Regions from separate parts of the Homo sapiens genome. Here region 1 is linked to region 2. The links are contacts of gene promoters, found by promoter capture Hi-C in human tissues and cell types (Jung and others, 2019). All regions are on one chromosome and are shown on one strand. Each heading gives the region's core, a stretch centred on a gene start or on the middle of the fragment in contact. The rest is flanking DNA. Distances are from core to core; before and after follow the strand shown. Region 1 overlaps MOV10L1 (Mov10 like RNA helicase 1). Region 2 holds the start of TUBGCP6 (tubulin gamma complex component 6).

Region 1 (7,047 bases), core at 3,777-6,276, 150 kb before region 2:
TAATTTTTAAAATTTTTTTGTAGAAATGGCGTCTCACTGTGTTGCGTAGGCTGATCTGAAACTCCTGGCCTCGAGTGGTCCTTCCACCTCGGCCTCCCAAAGTGTTGGGATTACAGGCATGAGCCACCATGCCTGGCCTGTTTGTTGATATTTAAATATTTGACCTGCCTGGAATTTATTTGGGTGCACAGACTGAGAGAAGGAACCAGACATTGCTTTCCTAATGGCTAGCCAGTCATCTGAGTAGCTCACTTTTTCCCTGCTGATTTGGAAAATTCCTTAATCATGTATCAGAATCCCACCTGCATGTGATGTGGTCCTGATGCTTGTAAGGGGGCCCCATGGCATGGTTGCTGTGATAGGTGGTGAGCAGGTTTCCCTTCTTTGCTCTTATTAGCATATGGTATTTTTCTGGCTCTTCACATGTTCTGGATGAGTTTGGAATCTTGTTTCTCCCCCTCTGCCCAGATTTGCTTTGGATGGCACTGAGTTTATGCATTTCATTTAGAATAATTGATATTTGGGTCATATGGAGTCTTTTCCATATGTCTGTCCATTTATTTAAGCCTTCCTTTGTATTCTTTTTATAGTTCAATAGTTTTCTTCTTTTAGGTCCTGTAAATTTCTTACTAAATTTATTTTCAGGAGTTTTTATGTGTTCTATTAACATCATTTTCCATCGTATTTTCAAATTAATCTTTTTCTTCCTGTATGGGAAAGCTTTCAATTTTTTTTTTTTTTTTTTGAGACGGAGTCTCGCTCTGTCACCCAGGCTGGAGTGCAGTGGCATGATCTTGGCTCACTGCAAGCTCCATCTTCTGGGTTCACACCATTCTCCTGCCTCAGCCTCCAGAGTAGCTGGGACTACAGGCGCCTGCCACCACGCCCAGCTAATTTTTTGTATTTTTAGTAGAGATGGGGTTTCACTGTGTTAGCCAGGATGGTCTCGATCTCCTGACCTCGTGATCCGCCACCTCGGCCTCCCAAAGTGCCGGGATTACAGGCATGAGCCACCATGCCCAGCGATTTTTAAATGTAATTTGGAATCTGGCAAACGTATTGAGCTATTAACTACTTTTTAAAAATACTTGAGATGTACTTTATTATACTATTATAGTTAGTACCATCTAATGCTTAGTATCATCTTTCTCAAATTAAAAAAAAAGCATACCCAATAAAATAATTCAAAGTCTAGAATTCCATCATTCAATATGGTAGCCACCACTCATGTGCAGCAGTTTCGATTTATTAAAACTAAATGCAACTTACAGCCAGGCGCGGTGGCATAAACCTGGAGTCCCAGCACTCGGGAGGCTGAGGCGGGAGTTCGAGACCAGCCTGGGCACATAGAGACCCTGTCTCTTAAAAATAAATAAATAAAAGTGTTTCCTCAGTTTCCCTGGCCACATTTCAAGTGCTAACTGAAGCCTAGTGACTACCAAATTGGGCAGCACACATAGAGAACATTTCTGTCAGCTCTGGCTTAGAGACTGTGAATGCAAAGTAGAAGAGCCTCCCTCCACGTTCCCCACCTGCACTTTCATGCTGCAGACCTGATGCTCTTCTGGGTTTCTGTTTCTACCTTATCTGGTAGATAGTTGAGTCACTTAAACAATATGCTTGTATCTTTTATTAATTCACCAATGTTAGTATTTATGGACTTCCATCATCAGAGATGTACAACTGGCTCATTCACACTACCCTCTTTTCCTCTCCCAATTATTTAATTATATTTTTTCCTCCAAAGATTTCCTTTTGAACTTGAAATTATACGATAGTCCTCATGTTTTTGTGTGTATTTAAAGGAGTACTCTGGGTTCAGAATCTTTGAAAGAGGATCTGGAACCCAGAACCTGTAGAGATGATGTTTACCTCATTCTCTGAGCTGTGGTCGTGTACTCACACGCGGCCTTCCAAAGCAGGTTCTCATACCAAATTCCCGTTGATTTTAAGATACACCATTAATTTGATAATGAAAATTTAAAATGGAAACGTAGGTTGTGAGACTCATTCTGATCTCAGAAATGTGACAATGTGGAAAAACTGGCCCCTGGGTGTCCAGCAAATCCCAGCCCTCTTGGTGGTCAGCTGCCCTTCACTTGTTCCATCTTGTAAGGAATGCAGGACCTTTTTTGTTATGGTGAAGAGGGTTCATCTCTACTCACAATCTTGCTTTTATAAATTAGTAATGGATTTTTCAAGTACTTTTCAGTATCTTCCAAATGATCCCATAGTTTCTGTCCCTTTGCTATTAATATGGTGGAAAATACAGTTTCTGTGTTGTGAGCCGTTCTCACTTGATGGGAATGATCCCCATTTGGTATAAACCTGAATGTACTTCTGGATTTATTTTTTATTTAGATATTTTTCTTGTGGTAAAATATGCGTAATATACCATTTTAACCATATTGAAATGTACGGTTCAGTGGCATTAAGCACGTTCACATTGTTGCGCAGCCATCACCACAATCTGTCTTCAGCACTTTTTCAGCATCCCAGTAGACACTCTGTACCCATTAAACAGTTATTCAGTGTTCTACTTTATGTCTCTATGAATTTGCCCATTCTAAATACCTCATATAAGCGGAATCATGTGTCTGGCTATTTGACTTCTGTTTTCAAGATTTGCCCATGTAGCATGTATCAAAAGTTAATTCCTTTTTTATGGCTGAATATTCCATTGTGTGAATAAATCACATTTTGTTTCTCCATTCATCTGTTGATGGACACTTGGGTTGTTTCTACTTTTTGGTTGTTGTGAATTGTGCTGCCATGAACAAGTCTGTCTGAGTCCTTGTTCAGTTCTTTTGGGGCTACGCCTAGGAAGAGAATTGCTGGGCTGTATGGTAAGTCTAGGTTTAACTTTGTGAGGAACCAGATGTTTTCCACAGCAGCTGCACCGTTATATGTTCCCACCAACAGTGCATGAGGCTGCCACTTTTTCTGTATCCTTGCCAACACTTGCTATTTTCTTTTTCTTTTTTTTTCTTTTGACAGTAGCTATTCCTCGTAGTTGTGAGGTAGTATCTCACTGTGGTTTTGATTTGCATTTCCCTAATGATTTGTGAGGGCATCTTTTCATGTGCTTATTGGCCATCTATATATCTTCTTTGGAGAAATATCTACTCAAATCCTTTGCCCGTTTTGAAATTAGGTTGTTTTCTTGTAGTAGGAATTCTTTATATATTCTGGATATTAATCTCTCATCACATACATGATTTGCAAATACTTTCTCTCATTTTATCAATTGTCTTTTCACTTTCTTCATGGTATCCTTTGATGCACAGATGTTTTAAATTTTGGTGGAAGTCTAATTTGTCTCTTTTATTGCATGTACTTCTGATGTCACACTCAAGATACCATTGACTAATCCAAGATTATGAAGATTTTTTTCTACCAAGAGTTTTATAGTTTTTGCTTTTAAATTAAAGTCTTTGATTCATTAAAAAAAATTTTTTGAGACAGGATCTCACTTTGTTGCCCAGGCTGGAGTGCAGCAGCACAGTCACAGCTCACTGCAGCCTCAACCTCCCAGGCTGAAGTGATCCTTCCACCTTAGCCACCTGAGCAGCTGGGACTACAGGTGTGTGCTGCCTCACCCAATTTTTGTATTTTTTGTAGAGATGGGGCCTCTCTATGTTGCCCAGGCTGGTCTCGAACTCCTGGGCTCAAGTGATCCGCCCATCCCACGCCTTTCCAAATGCTGAGATTATAGGGGTAAGCCACCACGCCTGGCCTCTTTAATCCATTTTGAGTTAATTTTTGTGTTTGGTGTAAAACGAGAGTCTAACTTTATTATTTTGCCCATGGTTATTTTCCCAGCACTATTTTTTTTTGAGACTGCACAATTGCAGTTTATTGAATGGTCCTTGTCAAAAATCAATTGACTGCACATGCAAGGGTTTATTTCTGGGTCTCTTTACTATTCCATTGGTTTATATTTCTGTCCTTACACTGGTGCCACACTAGTTTGATGACTGTAACTTTGTAGGAAGTTTTGAAATCAGGAGGTATGAAACCTTCAATTTTGTTACTCCTTTTCAAGACCATTTTGCCTATTCATGGTCCCTTGAGATTCCATTAGAATTTTAGATGAGTTTTTCTATTTATATAAAAATAGACCCATAGGACTTTGATAGGGATTGCGTTGCATTTGTTGGGTTTTTTTGTTGTTTGTTTGAGACAGAGTCTTGCTCTGTCACCCAGGATGGAGTGCAATGATGTGATATTGACTCATTGCAACCTCCGCCTCCCTGGTTCAAGCAATTCTCATGCCTCAGCCTCCCAAGTAGCTGGGACTGCAGGTGCTTGCCACTACACCCAGCTAATTTTTTTTGTATTTTTAGTAGAGATGGGGTTTCACCATGTTGACCAGGCTGGTCTTGAACTCCTGACCTCAAGTGATCCACCTGCCTCAACCTCCCAAAGTGCTGGAATTACAGGCATGAGCTACCACACCCAACCTGAATTTGTGTAATAGATCACTTTGGGTAGTATTGTCATCTTAATAATTAAGTCTAAGATTGTCATCTTAATAATAATTAAGTATTAAGATTAACATCTTAATAATAATTATTAAGATTAACATCTTAATAATCACATAATCACTTTGAGTAGTATTATCATCTTAATAATTAAGTCTTAAGATTGTCATTTTAATAATATTAGGTTTTCCAATTCATGAACGCGGTTGTCTTGCTGTTTATTGAGGTATTTAATTCATTCATTAGTGTCATTTTACGTGTCTTCCATCTCCTTAGTTAGGTTACTAAGTGTTCTGAGGAATTAACCTATTAACCTAACAGTGCTGTTATAAATGGAATTGTTTTCCCTTTCTTTGGATCATTTTTCTTGATTTCCTTTTTGGATTTTTCATTGCAAATGTATGGAAATCTGATTTTTGTATGTTGACTTTGTGTCCTGTGCTGGATTCATTTATTAGCTCTAACCATTTTTTGTTTCATTTACGTGTGTGGAATCTTTAGAGTTTTCCACAGATGAGATCCTACCATCTGTGAATAAAGATAATTGAAATTTGAAAGTCTTGAAGTAAGCATGGGCATCCTTGCCTGGTTCCTGATCTTAGGGGAAAGCTTTCGGCCTTTCACCATTGAGTGTGGTGTTTGTTGTGAGATTTTTGTTTATGGCCTTTCTCGTGTTGAAGAGATTTCCTGCGATTCCTAGTTTATTGAGTGTTTGCATCATAAAAAGTGTTGATTTTGTCAAATGCTTTTTGTGCATCAGTTGAGATCATCGTGATTTTTTCCCTCATCTTATCAATGTAATATGTTGACTGATTTTCATATGTTGAAACACTTTTGCATTCTGGGATAAACCCCACTTAGTCATGGGGTATAATCCTTTTAATATGCTGCTGCATTTGGTTTGATAATATTTCATTGAGGATTTTTGCATCAGTGTTCATAAGGGATTGCTATAGACTCAATGTTGGTGTCCCCCAAAATACGTATGTTGAAATCCTGACCCCAGTGGAATCTTATTAGGAGGCTTTGGTGGGTGACTGGGTCACAAGGGCAGAGCCCTTATGAAACATACCCCAGAGAACCCCTTTGCCCTTTCTGCCATGTGAGGACACAGCAGGAAGACACCGACGGTATACCAGGAAGAAGGCCCTCACCAGACCCGGAATCTGCCAGGGCCTTGATCTTGGACTTGCAGCCCTAATGGTCTCAGACAGGCATGCCAGCCTGTAGTTTGCTTTTCTTGTAGTTCTCGTATTATGGTTTAGAGCGGTGTGTTTGTTTTACAGGTAGAAGCTGTCTCTGATAAGTGGGAAGACGACAGCAGAAACCATGGGAGTCCCTCAGACTGCGGCCCCCGAGTGTTGATTGGCTGTGTGACTTCCCTGGTGGAGGGCGCAGGCTGTATCAGTCAGACCACCTACTTCTCTCTGGAGAGTGTGTGCGAAGGTATGCTCAGGGGTCTGTGTTCCACATTGAAAATTAGGTTTTGTCTTTTAAAGAATTGTTATGGACCAGGCACGGTGGCTCATGCCTATAATCCCAGCACTTTGTCAGGCTGAGACAGGAGGATCGCTTGAGCCCAGGAGTTGGAGGCTGCAGTGAGCTATGATCCAGCCACTACACTCCAGCCTGGGTGACAGAACACAACCCTGTGTCTATATTTGTGATGGCTACACACAACATTGAAGGGATCAGTTTTGGGCATGCTTTGTTTGTTGAGAGGGTTTCGGGATTAGAGTAGCTTCTCCAGGTGCTGGCTTCACACAGAGGCTCTTGGATATTGAGTGGACTATGGGAGAGGGCACCAGGTCACTGTTTTGTTTTTTTTGTTTTTGTTTTTGTTTTTGTTTTTCGAGATGGAGTCTCACTCTGTTGCCCAGGCTGGAGTGCAGTGGTATGATCTCAGCTCACTGCAACCTCTGCTTCCTGGGTTTGATTGATTCTCCTGCCTCAGCCTCCTGAGTAGCTGGGATTACAGGTGTGCACCACCATGCCCAGCTAATTTTTTGTATTTTTAGTAAAGATGGGGTTTCATCAGGTTGGCCGGGCTGGTCTCGAACTCTTGACCTTAGGTGATCCACCTGCCTCGGCCTCCTAAAGTGCTGGGATTACAGGCATGAGCCACCACACCCAGCCAGGTCACTGTTTAAACTTGTGCTTTTATGTGTTTTGTGTTCATTTGTTAAATGCAGTCAGTAATTTCTGGGTAGTTGTTGCTTCCATATAATTATAGTGTTATGATCTAAGTTAGTGTTACTGGCATGCTGAGGTACTATTTAAAGTACTTTAGATGTTTTAAAATAGGGCTTGGGGATGACATTGTACGTTTCCTAAAGTATATATCCTTTTTCTTTCTTTCTTTCTTTCTTTTTTTTGAGATGGAGTCTCACCCTGTCGCCCAGGCTGGAGTGCAGTGGCACGATCTCAGCTTACTGCAACCTCCGCCTCCTGGGTTCAGGCGATTCTCCTGCCTCAGCCTCCTGAGACTACAGGTGCCCACCACCACAGCAGGCTAACTTTTTGTGTCTTTAGTAGAGACAGGGTTTCACCATGTTGGCCAGTC
Region 2 (6,530 bases), core at 3,694-6,193:
AGGTTACTAACCCATCACAACTGCCTGGACCCCTGAGTACACAACGCCCCCCACACACCCCATCCAAGGCCACGCTCATGCAGGGGTAGGGGCACTGCATGCCAAGGCAAAGAAGGGCACACACCAGCCAACTCGCTCCCAGCACCTCCGCTTGCTGGCCTCATAGGTAAGTGCGGCTTCCCACAGGTCCACGTCTGGGGTCACGCTGGGCTCAGACTGGGAATCAGGAGTCAAGTTGGACGCTGACTGGAATCCTTCGTCTTCCCACTGATCCACACTCGGTGGGACCTGGAGACACAGGGAAGGGCAAACCGCCACTTATTGCTGTGTCCACGTTTCATCCAAGGGCGATGAGAATTTCAGGAACTTTATGCAAAGACCTAACAAAATGTTTCTTCTGTTTTTCTCAAGCGCATGTGTACCATACAATGTTTCCCACCAATGAGCCATTTAAGGAATTAAACAAAATAAGTCGTCAAGGCTGCCAATTTCCAATTCCATGTAACACATAAGCCTCAGTGGAACTTAGAGTGAAACTTTTTGAGATGCCTCAGACCTGGAAATTCCAATGTGGGGAACCCAGAATTAAAAAAATCACACTCAACATTAAAACACTACTGTACACCGGGGCCAGGCGCAGTGGCTCACGCCTGTAATCCCAGCACTATGGGAGGCTGAGGCAGGTGGATCACCTGAGGTCAGGAGTTTGAGACCAGCCTGGCCAGCATGTGAAACCCCGTCTCTACTAAAAATATAAAAATCGGCCAGGCGTGGTGGTGGGCACCTGTGGTCCCAGCTACTCGGGAGGCTGAGGCAGAAGAATTGCTTGAACCCGGGAAGCGGAGGTTGCAGTGAGCCGAGATTGCGCCACCACACTCCAGTCTGGGCGACAGAGCAAGACTGTGGGCAGCAAGCCACCCAGGTGCCGAGGCAAGAGACCGAGGGCACGAGCTGTTCTAGTACAATAAAATATATAGAACAAGAATAGTTACACTATAGATCATAAATATGATTATATATGAACGTTATTAATCATTAGTTTGTAGCAATTGCTCTTTATTCCAAGATTATAATAATCTTCGCTCTACAATTGTAACTTACGAGAAACCAGGCCATACAGAGACAGGAGCTGAAGGGGCAAGGTGAGAAGTGACCAGAAGACAAGAGTGTGAGCCTTCTGTCATGCCCAGACAGGGCCACTAGAGGGCTCCTTAGTCTAGTGGTAATGGCAGCACCTGGGAAGACGCCCATTACCTAGCGGACCTTGGTCTAGCGGTAGCGTCAGTGCCTAGGAAAAGCACCCACTACTTAGCAGACCAGGAAAGGGAGTCTCCCTTTCCCTGGGGGAGTTAGAGAAGACTCTGCTCCACCACCTCTTGTGGAGGGCCTGACATGACTCAGGCCCACCCGCAGTTATCCAGAGGCCTAAACGTCTCCCTGTGATGCTGTGCTTCAGCAGTCACACTCCTAGTCCACTTTCATGTTCCATCCTGTACACCTGGCTCTGCCTTCTAGATAGCAGTAGCAAATTAGTGAAAGTACTAAAAGTCTCTGAAATGCAGAAATAATGGTGTAAGCTGTCTCCTCTCTCTCTGCTTCGGCTGCCAAACAGGGAAGGGCCCCCTGTCCAGTTGACACGTGACCCACGTGACCTTACCTATCATTGGAGATGACTCACACTCCTTACCCTGCCCCTTTTGCCTTGTATCCAATAAATAACAGCGCAGCCTGGCATTTGGGGCCACTACTGGTCTCCACGTGTTGGTGGTAGTGATCCCCCGGGCCCAGCTGTTTTTTCTTCTATCTCTGTCTTGTGTCTTTATTTCTACCATCTCTGGTCTCCGCATATGGAGAGAAAAACCCACAGACCCTGTAGGGCTGGTCCCTACACAAGACTCCATCTCAAAAAAAAAAAAAAAAAAAAAAAAAAGAACAATCAGGCCGGGCTCACGCCTGTAATCCCAGCACTTTGGGAGGCCGAGGCGGGCAGATCACGAGGTGAGGAGATAGAGACCATCCTGGCTAACACGGTGAAACCCCGTCTCTACTAAATATACAAAAAATTCGCAGGGCGTGGTGGCAGGCACCTGTAGTCCCAGCTACTCAGGAGGCTGAGGCGGGAGAATGGCGTGAACCTGGGAGGCAGAGCTTGCAGTGAGCCAAGATTGTGCCACCGCACTCGAGCCTGGGCGACAGAGCGAGACTGTGTCAAAAAAAAAAATCAAATAAAATAAAAAAATAAAAATACAAACATATAAAATACAAAAATTAGCTGTGTGTGGTGACGCACACCTGTAGTCCCAGATACTTAGGAGGCTGAGGCAGGAGAATCGCTTGAACCCAGGAGATGGAGGTTGCAGTGAGCCGAGACCACACCACTGCACTCCAGCCTGGGCGACAGAGCAAGACTTGTCTCAAAAACAAAAAACAAAACTGCTGTACACCAAGACATTTGCTGTAGCATTATGTATGTTTCTAAATCATCTAGCTATCGCATAAGAATAGAACGACTAGTAACAATGTATCCTTTTGGCAACACTGATAAAGCAATAAAATACAAAACTCAAATGAGGAGCTACAGCGTACCATGGTAAAGCCTCAGGCGACAGACAGCAAAAACATATCCAATTGCACGAATTACAGAACATGAACACTTTTGCCACACGTGGCTACTGAGCACTTGAAATGTGGCTTGTGGGGCTGAGGAACTGAGTATTTTATTTTGTTTTAATTAACTTCAATTTAAACGGCAGCTCTAGAAGGCAGAGGTGGCTTAACGATATACCCCATTAGGTAAAGATGAAAAGCAGCATGTTGCTTTGGCCGGCAGGTGGGCAGCACTGTCGCTGCAGAGGAGGGTGGCCGCCAGTAAGCCCACTCCAGCAGCCCCACCTCAGGACAATGCAGCCACCAGACTATCCCCCCTTTTACCATGATAAAAGGAAGGTCACCGGGCCGGGCACAGTGGCTCATGCCTGTAATCCCAGCACTTTGGGAGGCCGAGACGGGTGGATCATTTGAGGTCAGGAGTTGGAGACCAGCCTGGCCAACATGGTGAAACCCCGCCTCTACTAAAAATACAAAAATTAGTTGGGCATGGTGGCTCACGCCTGTAATCCCAGCACTTTGGGAGGCCGAGGCAGGCGGATCAAGAGGTCAGGAGTTCAAGACCAGCCTAGCCAGCATGGTGAAACCCCATCTCTACTAAAAATACAAAACTTAGCTGGGCGTGGTGGCATGCACCTAAATCCCAGCTACAGCTACTCGGGAGGCTGAGGTAGGAGAATCACTTGACCCCGGGAGGCGGCGGTTACAGTGAGCCGAGATCGCGCCACGGCACTCCAGCCTGGGCAACAGAGCAAGACTCCATCTCAAAAAAAAAAAAAAATTAAGCCGGGCGTGGTGGCAGGTGCCTGTAATTTCAGCTACTCGGGAGGCTGAGGTACGAGAATTGCTTGAGCCCAGAAAGTGGAGGTTAAGGTGAGCCAAGATCGCGCCACTGCACTCCAGCCTGGGTGACAGAGTGAGACACTGTCTCAAAAAAAAAAAAAAAAAGAAGAAGAAGAAGAAGAAGAAAGGTCACAGGAAGCATTTTCCAAACCCCGAGAGAGATGAAAGAGGAAAAACTAAACATTCTACCTTAATAGCCAGCCCAGAGAGGTCCGCATTGTCTGGCACGGGGGGCAGGCCCAGTCGGACGTCCATGTCATAAGTGCGGCTGTGCACAAGGGCCCCGAAGAGCGAGACCCGGGTGTCTCTCTCGAACCTGTCACCACAAGGGTCACCAAATGAGAAGAGCCCGACGGTGGGCAGGCCAGTGCCTGGAGCAGCCTCCATAACCTGAAGTGTTTCCTGGATCATGCTGTGACACAAACACTCTTCTCTGGAGATCAGAGACTGAACGTCCATCTCAAACACACTCAGGTCGTCGCAATCATAGCCGCTGTACGGAACGTTTCTCCCCACATGCTTGTTGTTAAGGAAGTAGTCTCGTTTTCTCGGCAGAACTTGAGGGGGACCACTCCCTGCCAGCTGAACCAGGAGGTCCAAAACAGACCCCACCTCCAAAAGCGGACAGCAAGGGGCTGCTTCCAGCTCCTCCACAAGCTCCTCCAAACGGTCGGCCTTGGGGCCCAGGCCACCCACTCTCAAGTCAAAGGACAACATGAGGATCTTGTTTCTCGCTGGTAGTTTTGACATGTCAGGCTGCAGCTGTTGAGTCTCATCTTGAAAAAGATTTGTGAAAAGAGCATTGTAGGCCACCTTCTTGAGGCTCCGCTTTGCCCTCTTCCGGTTCACACTGCGCTGGCCCAGGTGAGTCTTGGCAGCCGGCAGGAGGGCCTCACACAGGTCGTCGAACAGCTGCGTGATGCTGGCCATGCCCCTTCTCAGCTCCGGGCCCCCGGCGTGTGGGAAAACACCTCACCCGGGCTTCACTCACGCTCCGGAAGACAGGGAGTGAGAGAGGGTCCGAAGAGGCTGAATGACAGGCGGCCTCTCCAATGCCGAAGCTCAGAACTGGTATTTTTTAAAGGAGGTCTTGCGGTTGCTCTACTCAGAGTAAACACGCCCTGCCCTCCCCAGTCCAAGCACGCTGCCCGGCGCCCGGCAGCCCACCAGAAGCCAGCTCGGCGTTTCTTCTAATTCAGTAGCCCTCAACCTTTAGGGAGTCACAGAACCGTGGCAAAACCGAAGAACGAAACGCGCGCCCGCGCAGTACAGCGGACGAACTCGGCTTTGCACCCGTTCTTCGGGACCCACGAGAGGAGACGGCCAGGAGAGGGTGCCACTCCGAGGGTCGTGGGCAGCGGAGAGTCTGGGGGCTCAGCCGGGTGGGTCCCGGGTTCTGGCCTGCACGTCCACCCGTTCTCCAGGCCTCACCCGTGGAAAGTGCCCACGGCTGCCGCTCTCGCCGCCTCCGTCGCGTCACAGCCGCGCCAGTGTGAAGAGCACTAGGGCGGGCGCGCCGGAAATACGTCACGGGAACGCCGGCAGCGCGTGAAGTTGGTGAGGCCTGGGCCGCGGCATACTTCCGGCCTGAGTCCGGCACCGCGGGTGAGAGACCGAGGCCGAGCGTGCTCAGTAAAGGAGGCAGAGCCAGCGTTTCGTTTGAGCGATGTTTACTAACGGCGCAAGGGCGGGGAGCGAAGCGCAGCGGGGCGCAGGGGCCGGAACGGGACCGAGCGTGGGTTGCATGGGCCTCGATGGGACGGGCCGGGGCGCGATGGGTGGGGCGGGGGCGAGGTGAGGTGAGGGGTGGAGCGGGGGAAGCACGGGTGGGAGAGGGCGGGGCGCGGGGATTGGGAGTGGGCGGGGTTCCGTGCCCCAGAGTCGAGGGAGCCGTGGGCTTGGGGTCCGGATCGCGGCCGCGGGGCGCTGGCGTGCGGTGTCATTTCTGCGGTGTAAATGCTCCCACCTTGGCCGATTTCAAGCCACCAGGTGAGGATGGCACTACAGGAGGAGCCGAGAAGAGGCGCGCAGTTGGCCTCCGGCGCTGGAGCTGGTTCAGGGCACTCCCCTGCCCTGCCCTCCCCACCGATCTGTGCGGCAGAGCCAGGCCCCAGGGCAGGGCCATGCCTCCGCAGTCAGCCTCACCTGCAACATCTTCCACTGAGGCTCCAGCTGCCCTCTCAGGTACATCAGGGCCTGGACGTCCTCTGGGGAGGCCACAGAGGAAGGGCCTAGGCTAGGAGGTGCCTCTCCATTCAGCACCCGGGCCAGGATCCCTGCTAGCTGGGGTGTGGAGTTCTGGACCAGGGGCGAAGACGGAAGCAGTCACTGGTCCTTTCCCTCGTCCCACCCCGCAGCACCTCCACCCTGCCCAGCTTACCTCCTCCAGGAGGGCCAGGACTCGGCCCCCTGCCAGCCCCCGAAGCATTGCAGCCAGGAGTGCAGCGTGGGGGCCCTGCAGGCCATGGCCAGGCCCCAGCGCCACCAGCACCAGGTCAGGCTGGAAGCCATAGGCCAGGGGCAGCACCAAGCCCAAGATGCAGCTCAGGAAACCACCGGTCATCTGTGGGGACAGCAGAGCCCAGCTCCTCATCTACGGACACCTGCTGGCTCTGGCCTCCCAACCTCCCAATCTCAGGGCCCCTGGAGTAGGAGCAGGGAGACAGGAAGGACCAGAGGCCTGCTATCATGACAATGCCAGCAAACAGCAGCTGTACACATCCATGGGCTCCCCAGCACCTGCCTTGCCGCGTGGCATGGTCACTCACCACTGGCAGTGGCGTGGAGACATGGAACATGGATAGGGCAGCCGCCTCCTTGCCCCTGATGTTCAGCCACAGACTCCTCCTTCCAGGACACAGGTGCATAAGTGTAAGGCCCTGCTCACCCTCCTGAGCCCAAACCGCAGAGGCAGAGGTGGAAGAGCATTCACGGGGCCATGGGCAGGGGTGCTGTGACTGCTGAGCCTCTGTGCTGGAGACCCACCTGGCATTGCCTCCAGCAGCCCTTCTCCCACACCCCAGCTGAGGAAGGCTCCATTCAGTACCACACAGTGCCCCACCCACCCGTCACCCTGGGGC

What was found. The method cuts DNA at HindIII sites, captures the fragments that hold promoters and counts their contacts. A contact is called where the count stands out against the background at its distance.
Region 1: a contact is called between a fragment that was not itself captured here and the fragment with the promoter of TUBGCP6 in region 2, in 1 of the 25 tissues and cell types used here (lymphoblastoid cells).

The regions. Positions count from the first base shown.
Region 1 is chr22:50,093,673-50,100,719 of GRCh38, forward strand. It overlaps MOV10L1 (Mov10 like RNA helicase 1), which reads left to right. Exons shown (of 27, transcript NM_018995.3): 3 at 5,771-5,930. Among named protein-coding and RNA genes, the nearest start is that of MOV10L1, 7.2 kb to the left of the region's middle. The HindIII fragment of the contact is 9,728 bases long and covers 163-7,047 here.
Region 2 is chr22:50,240,080-50,246,609 of GRCh38, forward strand. TUBGCP6 (tubulin gamma complex component 6) reads right to left here and starts at 4,944. Exons shown (of 25, transcript NM_020461.4): 1 at 3,640-4,944; 2 at 125-288. The coding sequence starts at 4,380. HDAC10 (histone deacetylase 10) reads right to left here. Exons shown (of 20, transcript NM_032019.6): 17 at 6,219-6,297; 18 at 5,831-6,013; 19 at 5,596-5,748; 20 at 5,104-5,451. The coding sequence ends at 5,428. RefSeq lists enhancers at 1,326-1,625, 3,533-4,463, 4,037-4,316, 4,727-4,776 and a silencer at 5,247-5,316. The HindIII fragment of the contact is 41,268 bases long and covers 1-6,530 here.